2 separate regions of the Homo sapiens genome follow, and region 1 is linked to region 2. The links are contacts of gene promoters, found by promoter capture Hi-C in blood cells and fetal thymus (Javierre and others, 2016). All regions are on one chromosome and are shown on one strand. The core of a region is centred on a gene start or on the middle of the fragment in contact, and the rest is flanking DNA. Distances in the headings are between cores, read along the strand shown. Region 1 overlaps VPS37A (VPS37A subunit of ESCRT-I). Region 2 holds the start of RNF122 (ring finger protein 122).

What was found. Contacts are between HindIII fragments. The CHiCAGO score rates a contact against its expected background, and 5 or more counts as called.
Region 1: a fragment that was not itself captured here is called in contact with the fragment with the promoter of RNF122 in region 2 in 1 of 17 cell types (M0 macrophages); the score reaches 5.7 in M0 macrophages.

The regions. Positions count from the first base shown.
Region 1 is chr8:17,251,016-17,254,074 of GRCh38, reverse strand. The region is part of intron 1 of VPS37A (VPS37A subunit of ESCRT-I); the gene reads right to left. Among named protein-coding and RNA genes, the nearest start is that of VPS37A, 5.6 kb to the right of the region's middle. The HindIII fragment of the contact is 1,604 bases long and covers 506-2,109 here.
Region 2 is chr8:33,565,598-33,568,501 of GRCh38, reverse strand. It overlaps RNF122 (ring finger protein 122), which reads left to right and starts at 1,374. Exons shown (of 6, transcript NM_024787.3): 1 at 1,374-1,803. The coding sequence starts at 1,779. RefSeq lists silencers at 1,490-1,609, 1,660-1,729, 1,760-1,809, 1,950-1,999. The HindIII fragment of the contact is 8,620 bases long and covers 412-2,904 here.

The sequences.
Region 1 (3,059 bases), core at 58-2,557, about 16 Mb after region 2:
CATAAAAAACTCAAGAGCAAAGACAAGATGACTATAAATTTATGTAATATCAGAACAACAAAAGACAACAGCACTTGCACACACACACATACTTACACAACTGATATAAGAATGAAAAAGCAAGAAACTGGAAATTTAAAACAAATAGCTCCAAAAATGGTTCAGTGTTGTTTGGAAAATCCTTCATACTATAGCTGTCTCTTGGAGAATGCTGATCCACTTTAGCACATTAAAGATTTTGAGAAATTCCAAAGTAAATTGTGTTTGTTTTCGAAATCTGTGTTAACATGGAGCACTTATTTCACATTTTTTTAATAGAACACATGATAATGACTGAGATGTACAAAGAGCTATGAAAACACAGAAGAAAGCACCTAACCTAGCGGCAGTGGGGTCTTCTGGAAAAAATAATATCTGAGTTACATTTAAAAGAGTTAATACTCAGAAAAGTAAATCAGGGAAATACAGTGTACATTTTAAATGGAGAAGCCCTATCAGAAAAGCTTCAGATACAAAATAACACAAGTTCTCCAAAAGTCTCCATAGCCTTTGCCATATATGAAACGTTACATTCTGTTTGTTGATATCTTTCCACCAGTCACATCACCATCTTCTGTGACAACCAGGAATCAAGTTAAGGTGGCTGGCCTTTTTTGACAAGAGTTAGGAAACTACTGAAAGGAGTGACATGGTCAAATTTGAATTTTAGAAAGATTACTCTGGCAGCAATGTGGAAGAAAAGGCAGAGGGAAAAAGGCTGGAGGCAGAGAGAACTGTTAGAACCTTGTGGTAGTAGACATGGAAGACTGAATGGAAATGGAAGACGGCACAGGTTTTCGGCTTAGGTGAGCAAACAGCAGAAATGGTTTGGAAGGAGTTCAGGTTGGGGGGAGGGGCAGATGTAGCTGATTTAACTAGCAATGGAGAAATGACTGCCTTATCATAACTTTTTTTTAAAGCAGTAACGGACTAATATTTCTAATGAGAAAATTAACTGAGCACTTGAGCTGTATGATATTTCTTAAATGGTACCATGCTTTATTGCGTCATACGCTCTGCAATTATACGTCTTAATCACTGGTTACAAATAGACAATATAATTTAATGTGTCAAAGTTTTAACTTAATTACAGGATTGATACGCATAATTTTAAAGTTTACTATATAGAGCTCAAAGTGCATTTACACAGTCAAAATGTTGATATTTTGGAGATTTCTGTAGCTTCAATGGGCTAAGGCATAACAGATGCTTGTAGAATTTTTTATTACAAGTTAATGTTATTTCCTTCCATAAAGAAGTTTTCCTATCAAATAACTACACCAGCGAGGTAACACACATGAATGAAGGCAGCTCCTTGTAGTCCAACAGGGAGTGAATTGCAAACTAGTGAAATGGGTAGTGGGTAGCCCAGCAAAGCAGACAGCTACTCTTCAGCTTGAAGCAAATGTTGCTATGTGGAAACCAATCTTTCCAGATTTTCCATTTTAAAAGAAGAGTTAGAGACGACAGGGGACATAGGGGAAATCTTCTGCCTTTTAATTTTGCTGTGAACATAAAACTACACTAAAAATAAAGTCTATTAAATAAAGAAAAATTGGGCTGGGTGTGGCAGCTCATGCCTGTCATCCTAGCACTTTGGGAGGCCAAGCCAGGCAGAGTGCTTGGGCCCAGGAGTTTGAGAGACAAGCCTGGGCAACATAGCAAAACCCCATCTCTACCAAAACAACAACAACAACAACAAAAGTAATTAAACTTATGAGCCAGGCATGATGGCATGTGCCTGTAGTTCCAGCTACTTGGGAAGCTGAGGTGGGAGGATTGCTGCGGTAAGCTGTGATCGTGCCACTGCACTCTAGCCTGGGTAACAGAGTGAGACCCTGTCTCAAAAAATAAATAAATAAAAAGGAAACCTGGAAATTTTAATACAAAAATTGCAAATTTTGACTGTTGATAATAAATGCTTTTCATAAAAATATATAACATGCGACGGGTTGAAACACAGACATACACATCCCTTCATTACAATATCTCTTGTGTTACCAAGTTTGTGTGTGAGTCCTCATGAGCTGAGAATGAATTCTATAGAAACAAGAGCATGGAATTTAAGCTTACTCAGAATCCCATGAGATAGGGGGACAAAGTCTTATAGCTGTGATCAAAACGTTAAGCTTAGCAGCTGTGGGGGAGAACTATACAAGAGCTGACTCTACAAGAAGTTTTAAGGCTAAACATTTAGGCAATCAGAACAACGGAATCCGCAGACTGGCAGCAAAAGAAAATATTAAAACAAATTTTAAAGACTAGGGAGAATGGCACTACTATTTTAAAGATAGGGACAAGAACAAAATACAGTAACAATTGCTGTTTACATCTCCTGTGTGCAAGATAATAATTTAGGTTATTTACCTGCATCATGCCTAATTTTATGAAGAAACTAACTGTCTGGAATGGACTTGCTTTCTAAATGGAAAGTCAGAAGTAGTTCTGCCAGAGACAGATAAGTTGTAGGTAAGCTTATGAGAGATCTACAAACAATAAGCTGGCTAGAAGCTTATAGGCTAAGAGGCAAAGATTCAAGCACACTGATTCTATGCAGTAGAAAGAAGGAATGTAATTCGTCCTATGCCTACTATGTGCTAGATACTCTTCCAAATGTCTTACATATATTTTTTAGTTATCAAAAATCCTGCATGACAGGAATCACAATTGCTGATTTTACAGATAGGAATTGGAGGATCAGGGTTGTCTCACATAAAAATATCCAAAACATGAGACATTTCTTCCTCCCAGTCATTTGTTACTATTGCTGAGAAAACATTTTGAGCAGCTCCCCAGCAGACTTCCCCTCCAACTCCCACTAACCAAGAGTCCTGCTTCCACAGTAACTTGGGGGGAAGGGTGATGAGACCATCATCACTGGCATAAACAATCCTTATTCACCTCTAGTGGAGGCTGGGTTGAAAGATTCCAGCCTCCACAAAGTATGGGCCTTGCAGAGGGAAAAACCAACAGTGTCCATAAAGTCAGCTTCCTCAGGAAGTATAAGAAACAGAATTAGT
Region 2 (2,904 bases), core at 125-2,624:
CCGCCTCAGCCTCCCGAAGTTTTGAGATTATAGGAGTGAGTCTAGACTGAAACATTTTGAATGCCACACTCTAGTTTACAGAACTTTATTCAGTAAACACTGGAGACCAACAAACGTTATCAAGCAAAGAAATGTTCAGATTTACATTTTACAGAGATAATTGTGACCAGAAGGGATGGACTTGAGAGTGAAATCAGAGCACTGTTTCTTTCAATAGCCGCATGAGAATTTGAGGGGTGGGGAAGACAAGGCACATTAAAATGAAAATTTCTGGGTCCACCCTTTATTGAATCAGAATCTCTGGGTTCAAGGCCTGGGAATCTGCATGTTACATCTCAAACATAGGAGTGATTCTTGTAGGCTCTGAAGTCTGAGCTATAGACTAGAATCAGAATGGCCAGTTAGGAAGCTTTTGCAATTATCCAATTAAGAAATGAAATGTCCTGGGTGCCATGGCTCATGCCTGTAATCCCAGCAATCTGGGAGGCTCAGGCGGGAGGATCACTTGAGTCCAGGAGTTCGAGACCAGCCTGAGCAACATAGTGAGGCCACTCATCTATACAAAACAATTAAAAAGTAGCTGGGCTTGGTGGCAGGCACCTGTGGTCCCAGTTTCTTGGGAGGCTAAGGTGGCAGGACTGCTTGGGCCCAGAAGTTGGAGGCTGCAGTAAGCTATTATTGCACCGCTGCACTCCAGCTGAGTGACAGAGCAAGACTCTAACTCAAAAAAGAAAAAGAGGGCCGGGAGCGGTGGCTCACGCCTATAATCCCAGCACTTTGGAAGGCTGAAGCAGGAGGATCACTTGAGGCCAGGAGTTCGAGAACAGCCTGTCCAACATGGCGAAACCCCGTCGCTATTAAAAATACAAAAATTATCTGGGCATGGTGGTAAGCGCCTGTAATCCCAGCTACTCAGGAGGCTGAGGCAGGAGAATCACCTGAACCCGAGAGGCAGAGGTTGCAGTGAGCTGAGATCGCGCCGCTGCACTCCAGCCTTGGCGATAGAGGCAGACTCTGCCTCCAAATACATAAGTAAATAAATAACAGATCTGTAGGCGGAAAACAATGTGGCAGTAATTGTTCCTTTGCCTTGGTGTCCCTGGGCAAAAGGCAGGCCCCCACTCCGGGGCATCGCTCGTCGCCGCTCCATTCTCTGCAGACCGAAGTTTCCCCAGGCCTGGGAAGACTAAGTGGGAGGCGCCCACCGTGCGAAGATCCTCCCGGCTTCCAGGGAAGGGAGGCTGGGCCTGCAAATAATAGCCGGGGGCAGGAGAAAGGCTCCGATTGGTCGGAGGGAGGGTGACGAACAAGGGGCGGAGTTTTCCTGGGGACTGGTGGGGGAAGTAAAAGGGAGGGGGTGTGCACCGCCGGGTGTCAGTTTCGGAACCCCAGCCAGCTCACCTCTGCGCCGCTGAACCCGATCCGAGCCTCCGGCAAAGGTTTTTCCCTCCTCCCCCGGCCGAGGGCTTCTGCAGCCCGGGCACCCCCGCCCCGCGGCGCCCCACATTCCCCCAGCCCGGGGCCCTTGGCGCGTGCGCTCCGTGCGGCTGTGCTCCGCGGGACTTTGTTTGTTTCCTCCTCGTCCCTCTTTGTTGGGCTGAACACCAGCCTCGTCAAAGCCCCCCACTCCGGAGGGAGTTCGGCTTCTCCAGCAGGGCGGCTGCAGCGCGCTGCCCCGACCCCGCCTGCGGCCCCTCACGCCGCTAGTGCTCCCACCCCGCCCTCCTGGCACCCCGCCTGCGTCCGTTCGCCCGAGGAAGCCAACCGCGACTTCATTGATGCACCCATTCCAGTGGTGTAACGGTGAGTCCCCGGGGCGAGGGCCGAGCCTACGTGGGGCTGGTGGGAGCCGCGGCGCGGGGTGCGAGGTCGGACAGCAGCGCGCTGGTCCTCCCTCGGGAACCAAGTTTCTCCTGAAATGGGACAGTCGAGAAGGCGTCTTGGCGCCCCACTCTGCTCTGCACAGCGCGGAATTTGAAACTATCCAGGTTTCACTCCAGAGCCTGGAAGGGGCCTCCGGACTGGCGGCGGGCCGGGGGCGTGGGAGCCGAGGGGTTCCCGGCCTTTGTGTGGCGGCCCGGCTCTTCTACCCCCTTCCCCTGCCTTTGTGCGCTCAAACTCTGTTCTTTGTTGTGGTTGTTGGAGGAGAATTAAATCCGCACTCGGGCTGGGATCTCCTAGAGGGAGCTCAAGTTCCCGGCCTGAAACTTTGCAGGCTATTGTAAATATGTATACCGTGCAGCGTGCGGGACTGGGCGCGGGGGTAGCTTCCTCTGGCTTTGTTGGTTTCCCACGGGCTGCTGGCGTGGCTTGGGTGCTTGCGGAAGACTGGATTAAAGAGTCGCTTTCGGCCAGGCGCGGTGGCTCACGCCTGTAATCCCAGCACTTTGGGAGGCCGAGGCGGGCGGATCACCTGAAGTCGGGAGTTCGAGACCAGCCTAACCAACATGGAGAAACTCCGTCTCTACTAAAAATACAAAATTAGCCGGGAGTGGTGGCGCATGCCTGTAAGCCCAGCTACTTGGGAGGCTGAGGCAGGAGAATCGCTTGAACCCAGGAGGCGGAGATTGCAGTGAGCCTAGATCGTGCCATTACACTCCAGCCTGGGCAACAAGAGCGAAACTCCATCTAAAAAAAAGCCGTTTTCCTGAGTTGATAAACCCTCGCAGAGAGCTCCGCGCCCGGCTGTCCCTGGGGTGCGAGGCTGGCCTGGCGGGAGCCGTGTTTCTGGCCACAAGGCCAGATTAGGGTGTCTGCTCCTGAGCCCAAGTGAAGGCCACACCTCCAGACGCGACAACCCCTCGCCCCATTTCTCCCCAGGCCTGGGTGATGCTTCTAAGTTAGTTCATTTCACCTGAGGCTTTTTGGAGGTTCAGGTGATACTGGGTTAGGCTGGAGTCTGAT